2 separate regions of the Homo sapiens genome follow, and region 2 is linked to region 1. Evidence: promoter capture Hi-C in 16 types of primary human blood cells and fetal thymus (Javierre and others, 2016). All regions are on one chromosome and are shown on one strand. The core of a region is centred on a gene start or on the middle of the fragment in contact, and the rest is flanking DNA. Distances in the headings are between cores, read along the strand shown.

Region 1 (6,780 bases), core at 197-2,696:
ACTGCAAAATATTGGGAAAAAGCACCCTACAATAACTTAAATTGTTTAAGGTCTTATTAAGTATATGATCTACAAGGGAAGAAAGGGAATATACATATATACACACTTAGACTGGGCAATTTGAATTTCTAGGAACTTATGATGTAGAAAAGCTTGTGTTTGTAGATAGATGGCTACCGAGATGTTCACTGCAGTGCTATTTATAATATGTAAAACAAACAGCTAAGAATATGTTCAGGCCAGCTGCAGTGGCTCACACCTGTAATCCCAGCACTTTGGGAGGGTGAGGTAGGAGGATCACCTGAGCCCAGGAGTTTGAGACCAGCCTGGGTGACAAAGCGAGACCCTGGCTCTACCAAAAAATACAAAAAAAATTTAATTGGGTGTGGTGATGTGCACCTTGTAGTCCTAGCTACTTGGGAGGATCTGGTTGGAGGATCACTTGAGCCCATGAGTTCGGAGGCTGCAGTGAGCTATGATTGTGCCACTGCGCTCCAGCCTGGGCAACAGAGGAAGACTCCATCTCTCAAAATAAATAAATAAAAAGAAAAAGGGGATTATGTTCATATGTTACGATGAGAAAACAGGTTACTAATTTTAAAAGTGAAAAATCTTTAAATGGTAATAACAATGCAAATTCACCTCTTCCCTCCAAAAAATAAAAAATAAAAATAAAATAAAATAAGTAAAGGTTATCAGGCATTTCCCTCTTCTCTCTCTCTCACTCTGTCTCTCTCTCACGCCTTCAGCCTGCAAACCTGAAGACTTCCTTTTTCTGAGAAGACATCAGGTAACTTGTTCCCGTGCCCCTGCCCTCCACGACCCCCACTGCTACTGGGCGTCTCGCTTTGGCGGAAGGTAGTGCGAGATCCGAGCAGGCAGCTCCACCATCAGAGCTGAGGAAATGAAACCAACTCGGTCCTGAGTTCCAGGAACTCGGACCGGGCCACCCTCACCCCTGGTTCTTCCCATCACCGTCCAGGAATTCGGCTGCAGCCCCTCGGCCCCGCCGCCTCCTGGGAAGACCCCATGCTCACCTTCGCGCCTCCCGAGGGGTGTGCGTCCAATCTGTCCCGTGCACAGTTCCAAAAAGCTCGCTCTTCCACCTTCTTTCCCACGACCGCCTCCTGCCCAGGCGAGAAGTTTGCAAACGCGAGGCCCGCGGGAGTTCCCCTGCGCCCCCTTTCCTGGTGCCCGCACCCTGCACTCTGCTGACTGTACCGGACGCCACACGTGGCTGGCGGCGACAAGGCGCCCCGATCCCTACCTGAGGGAAACCCCGGCCACTGCAGCTGCACTTGAGCAGGGTCCCTCCACTCAGCCACTTGGATGGCTGTTTCTGTCCAGTGCCCTCCGGAGGCCACTGCCTCAGGTCTGTGATGCCTGCAGAGAATGCTGCGACACTTCCCCCTCCGACGTGGCTCCAGCTGCCAACCACCAGGCTCACGGTGCCCTGGCTCCCTGGAGCCGCTTTCTAGGCAGCTCGGAGCCACGGCCCCTCCCTTCCTTCCTCCTGTCCTTTCCACACTCTTCCTGCCTTCCCCAAAGTCACTGGGTAACTACGCTGTACACGTCAGTACCAAGCCTTCTTTAGGGGCTGGGGATTCAGAATAGAATAAGGTCCCAGCAACTATTATAACCAGGACACAGTATGAGAAGGACTGGAAGTTTAGAGAAAAACTGAAAGTTGGAGAGAAGCTTCTGGTGTTTGCTTCTCTGTGCTGGATAATATTGGCGGGGTGGGGAGGGTACGAGGGAAGAGACACCAAAGTGGGAAAAAAGTCACTTCCTCTTCTAAGGTCATTGCAGAACATCCTGTTACAGTGTGAGTCAGGTTTTCTTAAGATTAACTACATCTTCAGCTAGAAAGTCTAAGTAGTGTTATGCATTTACTCAACAGACTATTTGCCTCTAAAAGAACAGAACTGGGAGCTGGGTGTGGTGGCTCATGCCTGTAATTCCAGCACTTTGGGAGGCGGAGGTGGCCAGATCACCTGAGGTCAGGAGTTCAAGACCATCCTGGCCAACATGGGGAAACCCTGTCTCTACTAAAAATACAAAAATTAGCCAGGCGTGGTGGTGCATGCCTGTAATCCCAGCTACTCGGGAGCCTGAGAGGGGAGAATCGCTTGAAGCCGGCCTTGGAGATTCATTTCTTCGCCTTGCTATTGTTCTTCGTCTCCTGCATCATCAGTTTTCTTCCTGTCTTAGGTGAAGAGATTGAGGTGAGGCAGGAGAATAGGGTCTGCAGGCAGGGAACATAAAGCTGATTCACGCTGACTTCTTAGAACTAAATAAAATGGACACATTTCAGCTATGACAGGAAATATTTTCTTCATTTACATATGGCGTTCACTGAGTAAGTGACTGAGCAACTTCACTTCATCTTCTTCATTTACATAGGGTGTACACCAATTAACCAATGGGAGCCTCTAGAGGGTATTTAAATCCCAGAAAATTCTGTAACGGAGTTCTTGAGCCCCTATGCTCACGCTGGCTCCCACCCTGTGGAGTGTACCTTTGTTTTCAATACATCTCTGCTTTTGTTGCCTCATTCTTTCCTTGCTTTGTGCATTTTGCCCATTTCTTTGTTCAAGATGCCAAGAACCTGGACACCTTCAACAAGTAACACAGGTGCCTGTGATTTATTGAAGGAAGACTCTTAGGAGAGTGGTGGGTATGATAGGGCAGAGGAAGAAAAAGTGAAACAAGTATGTAGTCAGTGGAGGCTCCATGGGGAGGTCTGGAATGTGAAGGTCTGGAACAAGAGGCAGCCTCCTTTCTGCCCAGGGCAATTCTTCTGGACGAGGGGGAAGCTGTGTGAGTGTTTAGCTGTCAACACTCATAGCAGCTGCAGGATGGGTATACTGATCTGCTATAAACAAAATCATACAATGTATAACCTTTTGGAAGTTTTTTTCTTTTCTTTTCTTTTTTTTTTTTTTTACTGTCCCACCATCAATGTACAAGACATTCAGTTTCTCTGCATCCTCAGCAGCATTTTATTTTGTCCCTGCCTGAATTTTTAGCTATTCTAACAGGTGAATAGTGATATATCATCATGGTTTTTTGTTTTGTTTTGTTTTGAGATAGAGTCTTACTCTGTTGCCCAGGCTGGAGTGCAGTGGCGCCATCTCAGCTCACTGCAACCTCCACCTCCTGGGTTCAAGCGATTCTCCAGCCTCAGCCTCCCAAGTAGCTGGGACTACAGGCGTGCACCACCACACCTGTCTATTTTTTGTATTTTTAGTAGAGACAGCGTTTCGCCATATTGGCCAGACTGGTCTCGAACTCCTGACCTCAGGTGATCCACCCACCTTGGCCTCCCAAAGTGCTGGGATTATAGGCATGAGCCACTGCGCCTGGTCTCATCATGGTTTTAATTGGCATTTCTTTAGTGCCTGGTGATGATGGACATGTTTTCATGTGCTTGTTTGCCATCTGTATAGCCTCATTGGTGAAATGTCTGTCCATGTCTTTTGCCCATTTTTAGTTGAATTCTTTTTAAAAAACTTGAGTTTTGAGAGTTTAAATATTCTAGATATTAATCCTTTGCCAGATAGGTGGTGTTCAAATGGTGGTGGAGTAACTGAACAAAAAAATGAACTTCACCTAAACCTCATATTCTATGCAAAAATTGCCTGAATGGATCAGAGATTTAAATGTAAAATGTAAAACAAGGAACCTTTTAGAAGAAAGCAGAGAGAACTGTGCAGAATGAAAGGACATTTCCTGTTGAGAAAATGTAAATGTTTGAAAAAAGTTTAGGGCCGGTCGCAGTGGCTCACGCCTGTAATCCCAGCACTTTGGGAGGCCGAGGTGGGCGGATCACGAGGTCAGGAGATTAAGACCATCCTGGCTAACACGGTGAAACCCCATCTCTACTAAAAATACAAAAAAAAATTAGCCGGATGTGGTGGCGGGTGCCTGTAGTCCCAGCTACTCGGGAGGCTGAGGCAGGAGAACGATGTGAACCCAGGAGGCGGAGCTTGCAGTGAGCCGAGATCGCGCCATTGCACACCAGCCTGGGTGGCAGAGTGAGACTCCGTCTCAAAAAAAAAAAAAAAAAAAAAGAAAAGAAAAAAGTTTAAATGAGCCCTTTAAAATGTTTTTATTTTTAGTAGAGACAGAGGTCTCCCTGTGTTGCTGAGGCTGATCTTGAACTTCTGAACTCAAGCAATCCTCATGCCTTGGCCCCCCAAAGTGTTGGGATTACGAGCTTGAGCCACCTTGCCTGGCCAAATGAGTCTATTTAATAAGAATGGCTATTCATACTAAAAATTGTACAATATTAAAAATAATTCCCAGTTTCTTTGGCTTTATCTTGGAGTTGCCATTTGAAAAAAAAAATCACAAACATTTGAAAAAAAAAAAAACTTGTAGAACATGTAGAAGAAAATCTTCAGAACCTAAGGCTAGGCGAAGAATTCTTAGGCATAACATCAAAGCCATTATTATTCTTTCTTCTTTTCTTTTTCTTTCTTTTTTTTTTTTTTGAGACGGAGTCTCCCTCTGTTGCCAGGCTGTAGTGCAGTGCTGTGATCTCAGCTTACTGCAACCTCCACCTCCAGGGCTCAAACAATTCTCCTGCCTCAGCCTTCCAACAAGCTGGGACTACAGGCATGTGCCACCACGCTTGGCTAGTTTTTTTTTGTATTTTTAGTAGAGATGGAGTTTTAGCATGTTGGCCAGGCTGGTCTCGAACTCCTGACCTCAAGTGATCTACCTGCCTTGGCCTCCCAAAGTGCTGGGATTACAGGCATGAGCCACTGCGCCTGGCCCCAAAGCCATTATTCTTAAAATTAAAAAATGATAAATCAGACTTGATCAAAATTTGAAACTTGCTCTGCAAAGACCCTTTTAAGGGGATGAAAAGACAAGTTACAGATTGGGAGAAAATGTTTGCAAATCACATGTCAAATAATATGCTTCTAAATAATTCATGAGTCAAAAAGGACATTTTCTCAAGAGAAATGAAGATATATTTTGCTCAATAAATTTAAACAGATCAAAATCATACAAAGCATCTTCTTTGACCACAATAGAATAAAACTAGAAATAAATAACAGAAAGAGAACTGGAATATTCACAAATATGCAGAAATTAAACAACATACACTTAAACAACTAGTGGGACAAAGAAGAAATCACAAGGGAAATTAGAAAATACTTCGAGACAAATAAAAGATACAACATGCCAAAACTTAGGGGATGCAGCAAAAACAGTTCTCAAAGGATAATTTATAGCTACATGGCTACAAAAGAGAAAAAGAGAGAGGCCTGGTGCCGTGGCTCATGCCTGTAATCCCAGCACTTTGGGAGGCTGAGGCGGGTGGATCACGAGGTTAGGAGTTCAAGACCAGCCTGGCCAACACGGTGAAACCCCGTCTGCTAAAAATACAAAAAAAAAAAAAAAAAAAATAGCCCGACGTGATGGCGGGCACCTGTAATCTCAGCTACTCAGGCGGCTGAGGCAGGAGAATCGCTTGAACCCAGGAGGCAGAGGTTGTAGTGAGCCAAGATCATGCCACTGCACTCCAGCCTGGGTGACAGAGTGAGACTCCATCTCAAAAAAAAAAAAAAAAAAAAGAGAGAGAGAGATCTCAAATCATTATCCCAACTCTACCCTTTAAGGAACTAGTAAAAGAAGAACAAATCAAACCCAAAACTAGCAGAAGGGAGGAAATTACCAAGATCAGAAAAGAGAAAATCAATGAAACTGAAAGTTAGTTCTTTGAAAAGATTAATAAAATTGACGAATCCTTAGCTAAACTAAAACAAAAAGAAGATGAAAATAACTTAAATCAGAAATGAAAGTGGGGACCTTACTATCTACCTTACAGAAATAAAAAGGACTATGAGAGAAAACTATGAACAATTGTTTGCCAACCAATTAGGTAACCTAGAGGATATGGACAAATTCCCAGGCACGCAAAATTTACCTAATTCACTCAATGAGAAATAGAAAATCTGAACATACCTACAACAAGTAAAGAAATTGAATTAATAATCAAAACTCCTCCAAACAAGTAAAGTCCAGGCCTAATAGTTTTACAGTAAATTCTACCAAACATTTTTTTCTTTCTTGGAGACTTTTATTTATTGTATTTATTATATTTTTTTATTATATTTTAAGTCCTGGGGTACAGTGCAGAATGTGCAGTTTTGTTACATAGGTATACACGTGCCATGCTGGTTTCCTGCACCCATCAACCCGCCACCTACATTAGGTATTTCTCCTAATGCTATCCCTTCCCTAGCCCCCACCACCTGACAGGCCCTGGTGGGTGATGTTCACTTCCCTGCGTCAATGTGTTCTCATTGTTCAACTCCCACTTATGAGTGAGAACATGCGGTGTTTTCTACCAAACATTTAAAAATAAATTACCACCAATCATTCTCAAACTCTTCCAAAAATAGGAGAGGAGGAAACACTTCCTAACTCATTTTAAGAAACCAGCATTACTCTGATACTAAAGCCAGATAAAGACACAAGAAACGAAAACTACAAGCCAATATACCTTAAGAATCCAGAGGCTAGCTGGGCGCAGTGGCTCATGCCTATAATTCTAGCACTTTGGGAGGCTGAGGCAGTTAGATCACTTGAGCCCAGGAATACGAGACCAGCCTGGCCAACATGGTGAAACCTAGTCTCTACCAAAAATACAAAAAAATAGCCAGGCATGGTGGTGTGCGCCTGTAGTCCCGGCTACTCGGGAGGCTGAGGTGGGAGGATCACTTGAGCCCATGCCACCACACTCCAGCCTGGGCAACAGAGCAA
Region 2 (7,570 bases), core at 663-3,162, 680 kb after region 1:
TATATGGATGTATTCAATTGTGAAAACTCATTAAATTGAACACTTAAGGCCCCTGTGATAATGAACCTACCTCCTGCCATAAAAGTCAAATGCTATGGGAACCAAAAAGCAGTACTTAATGAATGCTGTTTGATACATGATGAATAGATGAATACATGAAGACTGAGAAAATATTGAAGTGTGGAGTATAATTATCATTAAAATGCTCTCCATCATTCTTCTACCACTATATTGGTGTGAGTCCACACAAATCTCTTCAATTTATTGACCAATCACAATTAAGATGATATCCTTGTCTCTCTGAAATCCTGCTCTATTTATAACTCAACTCTTTCTTGAATATTTCCAATGAATGTCCATATAACAAGCTTTCCAGCTGAAGTAACAAAAGAAATAAAGAAAAGAAAAAGGTGGCAAAGAAGAAACTAAATGTGAGAGAAGATATGAAAAAGACTCCTTGTGTTCAAGTACAATCTAGTCAATTTAGTTCCAAAGGAAGAAAAACATGAAGTCACTAAATATGCTCCTAGTTGAAGGTCAGGGAAACCACTCAGAAAGGCCAACAGTTTGCTTCTCCACTTCTCGAGGTTCACTCAGTTCTATTGTGTTCTCATAGGCAGTAAAAACCAAAAGAAAATCATCCAAAGCAACAAACATGCAGTTGCCCCAAACTGCTTTAGCAATAAATAGAATTTCATGCTGAGTGGCAGACTGTTTAGCTCACATTCCTGTAACGTCCCCTACATCTATTTCACGCAGCAACTTCGCTAGCAGTCACCAGCCACAGCCTGAACACTGTAGTAACAGGGCACATTATACATCAAAATCCCTTAGATACATTTTAACCCAGCATCTATGGTAGAAAACAACCAAGAGTTTCTTGTTATCCACAAGGCAAGCCAAAGTTAAGTGCAGGAAAGGCTGAGGGAATACCATGTGCTTCCTTTCTGACTGGAAAACAAGGCTTCCAGGCAACACAGCAGGGTTTCTGTGCACTCTGACAGGGATGTGCGTTGTAAGCTGCATTGCTATGGAAACAACACTTCTACAACTAGAGGACAAGTCAACCTGAAATAAAGGAAATAGCAGGAATTGCAAAATAGGTCTTGTGGAATGAGTAAGGAGCATCTCACGTCTCTGCTTGAACTATGGCATGATTAAGCTGAAATAAAATGTCATTCCAATCATATAACAGACATTTACAGTCTGTTTTTGGGGTCAGCTACTTGCTGAACACAAGCTATGAAACCAAAACCACCCTGCTTTTAAGATGAAAACTGACAAAATATGCAAAACTAAAAGGATAAGAACTAAATTTCCACAGATCAAAGTTTTAAAAAATGGTGATCATTAATAAAAGCTATTCATTTACTCCTTAATCAAATACTATAAATTATTTGCCACGTACCAGGCTGGACACATACAAAAAAGACAAAATCTACGCCTTCAAGCTCACAGCGTAGTGATGGAGACTAAGGTGTAAAACTGACGATGAGGGAGTATGGGATAGTTAGTGCTACAATAAAGGCTATTAAACAAATGCAGTTGCAAAGGGGTAGTAGTTAGAGTTTAGTGCAAGACACAGACACTGACTGGCCGACAAAAAAGGAATTTATTTAAAAGATATTGGGGTAAAAACAAAGATACTGGTCTTTCCAAGTGTCCACAGAATATACAAGACAGACCACATCCTGGCCCATAAAATTAATATCAACAAATTTAAAAGAGTTGAAATCACAAAGAATGTGTTCACCAGCAACATGATCAAACTAGAAAGCAACAACAGAAAGACAACAGAAAACTCTCTGAAAACTTGGAAATGGAACAATACACTTCTAAATAATGCATGGGTCAAAAAGAAAGTCTCAAGGGAATTAAAAAAATAATGAACGGAATAAAATCATACATGTATCAAAAATTGTTGAATATAGCTAAAGCAGTGTGAGGGAAATGTGTAGTAAGAAATACATACAGTGTAAAGAGGAAAAGTCTCAAATCAATAATCTAAGCTCCAACTTCAAGAATCTAGTAAAAAAAAAGAGCAATATATAGGCAAACCAAGCAGAAGCAAGGAAATAATTATAGAAGTAAATGAAATTGAAAACATAAAGGGAAAGATCAATGAAACAGAGCTGGTTCTTTGAACAGATCAATAAAATCGACAAACGTCTAGCAAGACTGACCAAAAAAAAAAGAGAGAGAGAGAGAAGGCACAAATTACCAATATCGGAGGTAATGAAATGGGATATCACTACAAGTATCAAAAGGATAAGAGAATATTATGCAGAATTCTACCCAAATAAATTTGGCAACATAGACTAATTCCTCAAAAAAGACAAACCACAAGACACTCAATATGAAAGAGCCCTGTAACTATTAAGGAAACAATTTGTCATTTAAAAACTCCCAAAAAGGAAATCTCTAGATTAGTGATTACCAGAGGTTAAGGAGGGGGTGAGGGCAGGAGGAAAGTGTATGTAGCTATAGAGAACATGAGGAATCTTAGCAGATATGAAAATGTTCTGTATCTTGACTATATCTGTCAATGTAAATATCCCAGTTGTAATATTATAAGATGGTACCATAGGGGGAAACTGGGTCAAAGGAACAAGGAATCTCTGCACTAGTTTATATGACTACACATGAGTATACAACCTCTTAAAATTAAAGGTTTATTTATTTATTTTTTTAAAGGTAAAGGGATTGCTGGGCGTAGTGGCTCATGCCTGTAATCTAAGCACTTTGGGAGGCCGAGATGGGCATATCACTTGAGCCCAGGAGTTTGAGACCAGCCTGGGCAACATGGTGGAACCCTGTCTCTACTAAAAATACAAAAATTAGACAGGCGTGCAGGTACTCATTTGTAGTCCCAGCTACTTAGGAAGCTGAGGCAGGAAAATCGCTTGAACTCAGGAGGTGGAGGTTGCACTGAGCTGAGATTGTGCCACTGCACTCCAGCCTGGGCAACACAGCAAAACTCCATCTGAAAAAAAAAAAAGAAAGAAAAGCTACATAGGGTATCTGCACTTAAAGCCGATGAACTTCCATTTTAGGCAAGATGGATACTTAAGATAACCTAAACATTTTCCAGATAAAGACCTAGAAATGCTACATAAAATATACCAAAAATTATTTTAAGTGTATAGCTAAACTCATAAGAAAGAATGGGCAACCTCCGGGTATTTGGATCAAAGAAGGAACTGAAAACCACAGTAGAGCACATGAGCTGAAATAGTGGTTACAGCCGGCAGGGTGGGGTGGGGGAAGACAGTTTCAATAACTTCCAGTCGGGGTTTTATTTGCCACGTGATAATAAAAATGGTCTTGAGCTTACAGGCAGTAGAGAACTAGAACTAAGGCTAAAAGTGGAAAGTCAATGCATCCTCAATGAAAGGAAAGAGTTAGGAAAAAAAAAAAATCACATAACAGCCCAAGGAACAGAGAAGAAAGTGTATCTAAGCTTTTGGGCTGTAGCGGGTAGGAAGAAAGGTCTCTTTTAAGAACCGGAACGAACCCTGGGCCTGCAACCCACATAGATTTGGGCTTCAAAATTATACTTTCAATTATAATATCTGAATGTTCCAGGCACTCCAAACCAAAGAATTAACATAAAAATTGGCCCAGGCAAGAGCATCTAGAAAAAGCAAATTCATCCCCACTTTTTAAAACCAGGTCATATAAGATCACACCACAGATAAAACCTCGCTAAAGAGTAAAAACATATTAAACATAAAAGGAAATACTGACAGTGAACTGAAGGATTTTTTTGAGAGTTAGCAATCGACAGTAGCAGTTCAATAAACTAGAACTTACTAATAGACAACAAAGATAAAATTTTTGAGCATGTGACACTATCTAAGCTAAATCTCTGCCAAATTACCCCAGCAGTGGCACGTAGAGTGGAGAGAGGAAGAGTGACTACAGACTTTATGTAAACTTAGGAAATGATTACAATAGTCCAAGCCTTTCAAAAGATTTTAGAAAATATTCTAATTACATAGTGACAGATGCTTCAGAATGTAAGACCCAGGGCCAGGAGCAATGGCCCATACCTGTAATCCCAGCACTTTCAGAGGCCAACATGGGAGGAATGCCTGAAGGCAGGAGTTGGAGACCAGCCTGGGTAACAAAGTGAGACCCTGTCTCAATAAAAAATTAAAATTAAAATAGTTTTTTAAAAAAGAAAGAATGTAAGACCCAGAAAAAAGGCAATGAGAGTGGAGATAAAATGAGGGAGGGGGATATGAATGAATACTTACAGACATTTTGGGAGTAGAGTTAAAAGGACTCATTGGATTGGGCAGTTAGGGGCTAGGGGGAAAGACAAGAAAGGGAAAAACTAAAGGTGACACTGAGGTTGGGGCTCAACTACTATTGAGGAAAATAGTGGTATATTCTCCCTCTACCAACGACAGGCAGTTTTGGCCCAGCAGATGAGAACACTAGACTGGAAAGAAGCCTCAGATTTCTAGTCCAGGTTCTCTCTCTTTGGCAAGCTACTGAATTTCACATGTTGGTTTCTTCACTTCTGTAATATGGGAGGATTTAGGGAAACTGAGTTAAATACTGGACCAGTTGTGGAGTCAAGGGGATTCAGAATAAACTGCTTGCAAGCAGCAAGAGATATGGGTCTGGAGTTCAGGAGAAAAGCAGTACTGAAAGGACAGAGCAGAGGGAGAATCATCAGTGTTGAAAAGATGGTTAAAGTTGTAGCAGTAGATGATACTATTAGATGCATAAAGACAAGAGGCCTATGAATCTTGGGAAAACCCTAAGCAAATATAAGAAAGGTAGCAGTCGAAAGCTCAGAGACAATTAGCCAGGCATGGTGGTGCATGCCTGTAGTCCCAGCTACACAGGAGGCTGAGGTGGGAAGATCACTTGAGCCAGAATGCAGAGGTTGTAGTGAGCTGAGATCTTGCCACTGCACTCCAGCCTGGGCAACAGGAGTGAAACCCCTGTCTCAAAAAAGAAAAAAAAAAAAAAAGCTCAGAGGCATACCAGTCTTACTGAGAAGGGGTATTCTGAGATAGAGTACCATAATTAGATGACATACTATATTGGGATAGAGTTGTGTTCCATTTTCCACTGCCAACTAATTTCCTGAGTGATTGATAAAATATAAGGAAAATAAAAGTCTTTGTCACAGACCTTCCCTAGTATCCCTCGAAAACACTGATCCTTTGCTTTCATTATGGTGTTAGAAGTTCTACTTCAAAGGGTTTAAAAAATATATTCTATAAAGACAGATAGATACTTCATAATCTAAGCCTTTACACAGCTGAAATTCTGCCTGGCTTAGGCTTGCAGGATACTGTGAAACACACAGCTGATCCAAGTTAGCCCAATAGGAAAGCTGGTTTCACCACCTCAAGACAGAGAAATTGAGGTCAGACTGGTCTAACACAGGCTAAATCAGCGTGCCCTTTTGAAATGGTATCAAAAATTTGGATTTAGTTAACCCCACAGCACAACACAGAAACATGGCTGAAAAGCAGACGTGATGCTTGTGGTTACTGTTCTAAAGGAAACTTTTCCTCCAAGTTTTGCTTTGAAGCAAGTAACGCTATACAAGAGACCAAGATCAAGAGCATTTTTGTACATGATATTCCTTGGATCTTCCTAATTCTCACCTCTGGCCAAACAAGTCATGTCATGCTCTATTTGACTGTGGGGGAAAACTCTTCTCCTTTTGTTTCCACTTCCTACAGGCACATCATCTCACAAGCAGCTAGGACTAAAAGATCTCAGTTTAAAGCAGAAGCCAATGCAAAGCATGAGTTTTTCCTACACATTCTCAAATTAGCAACTACTGAAATTGTACTACATTTCAAATTCAAGGAAATGCTAATAATCAAAAGGTTATGTTTTATGGTCTTAAGCATCCAGAATTACTAGGTCTAAAGATGAATGTTTGATTAGAATCTTCCATATCCTCAATGATGGGAAAATATTGGCCTAGCTTTAAATTATTTCAGCTTAAATTTATCATAGGTTTGCTTGGGTAACAGGGTTGTGGCAGAATCCAAAATTCAAGTAACTGAGTATAGTTAAGTGCTGGACTTCAGACCAGCCTGATTTTCAATCCTTGACCAAAATAATTAGAAGACAGCTGCTCAGCCTCTCCCAAAAGAAAAATTCCTCAATCCAAATTAAAGTATTTATCTAATATGAATCTTTCTGTACAGTCAGAACCCTTCAGGAAATAGCAGCAAGTTGCCTTTTTAAGAACTTTAATCAGAACATAAAAATCGCTTAGTGCTATGATTAGGATGAATGACATTCTTCCCTGATGTTAAAACATTTTGAGATAGTACTTTCCAACACAAAGAACCTAAGAGTGAAGCAGCACACAGCATTTGCAAAGGATCAATAAGATACAGCCCCAGCGAGGCGCTGTGGCTCTCACCTGTAATCCCAGCACTTTGGGAGGCCGAGGTGGGCGGATCATGAGGTCAAGTGATCGAGACCATCCTTGCCAATATGGTGAAACCCTGCCTCTACTAAAAATACAAAAATTAGCCGGGCATGGTGGTGGGCGCCTTTAGTCCCAGCTACTCGGGAAGCTGAGGCAGGAGAATTGCTTGGACCTGGGAGGTGGAGGTTGCAGTAAGCCGAGATCGTGCCACTGCACTCTAGCCTGGCAAAAGAGCGAGACTCCGTCTTAAAAAAAAAAAAAAAAAAAAGATACAGCCCCAAATTTGGCTCACAATTTATCTCAGTGTTTATAAAATCTAGATTTTTTTACCTGATCTCTTAAATGACTGAAGATTAATTAACTTTGATAATTTGATACAATATGGAAACTACCTACAGGTAATATGCAAACCTTAATTTATTCATTCCGTAACATTTGACAAATACACAAAATAATATTAGTTTAATAAAAAGTCTGTTTTGGTAACAGTTTTCAAAAGAGGAAAAATTTTGGCTGGGCGCAGTGGCTCACATCTGTAATCCTAGCACTTTGTGAGGCTGAGGTGGGCAGATCACCTGAGGTCAGGAGAGCAGCCTGGCCAACAAGGCGAAACCCCATCTCTACTAAAAATACAAAAATTAGCCAGGCATGGTGGCACATGCCTGTAATCCCAGCTACTTGGGAGGCTAAGGCAGGAGAATTCCTTGAACCCAGGAGGTGGAGGTTGCAGTGAGCCGAGCGAGATAGCACCACTGCACTCTAGCCTGGGCGACAGAGTGAGACTCCATCTCAAAAAAAAGAGAAAGAAAAGAGGAAAAATTTTAAACCACCACACAAACCAGCAGGTTATAAAGATACAGTTACTACAATGATCGTGGAGAAATGCAGATAAATACATATTGGTAAATGTATGGAAACTGGTCTTCTCACATAATACTGGCATGACTTCAAATTGCTTCTGCCTATTTAGCAGCAGCTATTAGAATTTAAGATGCACATACCCAATGACCCAGCAATCCCACTTCTAAAATTCTGTCCTTCAGAAATAACAGTATGAGAACATAAAAAACATATGTGTAAGGATTATCACAGATTATTAATAACTGTAAAATTTGGAAAACTGTAAATGTTCATCAATAAGAGAAGGTGCAC

Evidence for each region. The method cuts DNA at HindIII sites, captures the fragments that hold promoters and counts their contacts. A CHiCAGO score of 5 or more calls a contact.
Region 2: a fragment that was not itself captured here is called in contact with the fragment with the promoter of MLKL in region 1 in 4 of 17 cell types (M1 macrophages, fetal thymus, erythroblasts and 1 more); the score reaches 6.2 in M1 macrophages.

Annotation. Positions count from the first base shown.
Region 1 is chr16:74,699,416-74,706,195 of GRCh38, forward strand. It overlaps MLKL (mixed lineage kinase domain like pseudokinase), which reads right to left and starts at 1,447. Exons shown (of 11, transcript NM_152649.4): 1 at 1,038-1,447. RefSeq lists an enhancer at 901-1,350. The HindIII fragment of the contact is 1,546 bases long and covers 151-1,696 here.
Region 2 is chr16:75,377,152-75,384,721 of GRCh38, forward strand. All of the region lies in intron 5 of CFDP1 (craniofacial development protein 1), which reads right to left. Among named protein-coding and RNA genes, the nearest start is that of CFDP1, 53 kb to the right of the region's middle. RefSeq lists an enhancer at 3,366-3,475. The HindIII fragment of the contact is 3,092 bases long and covers 367-3,458 here.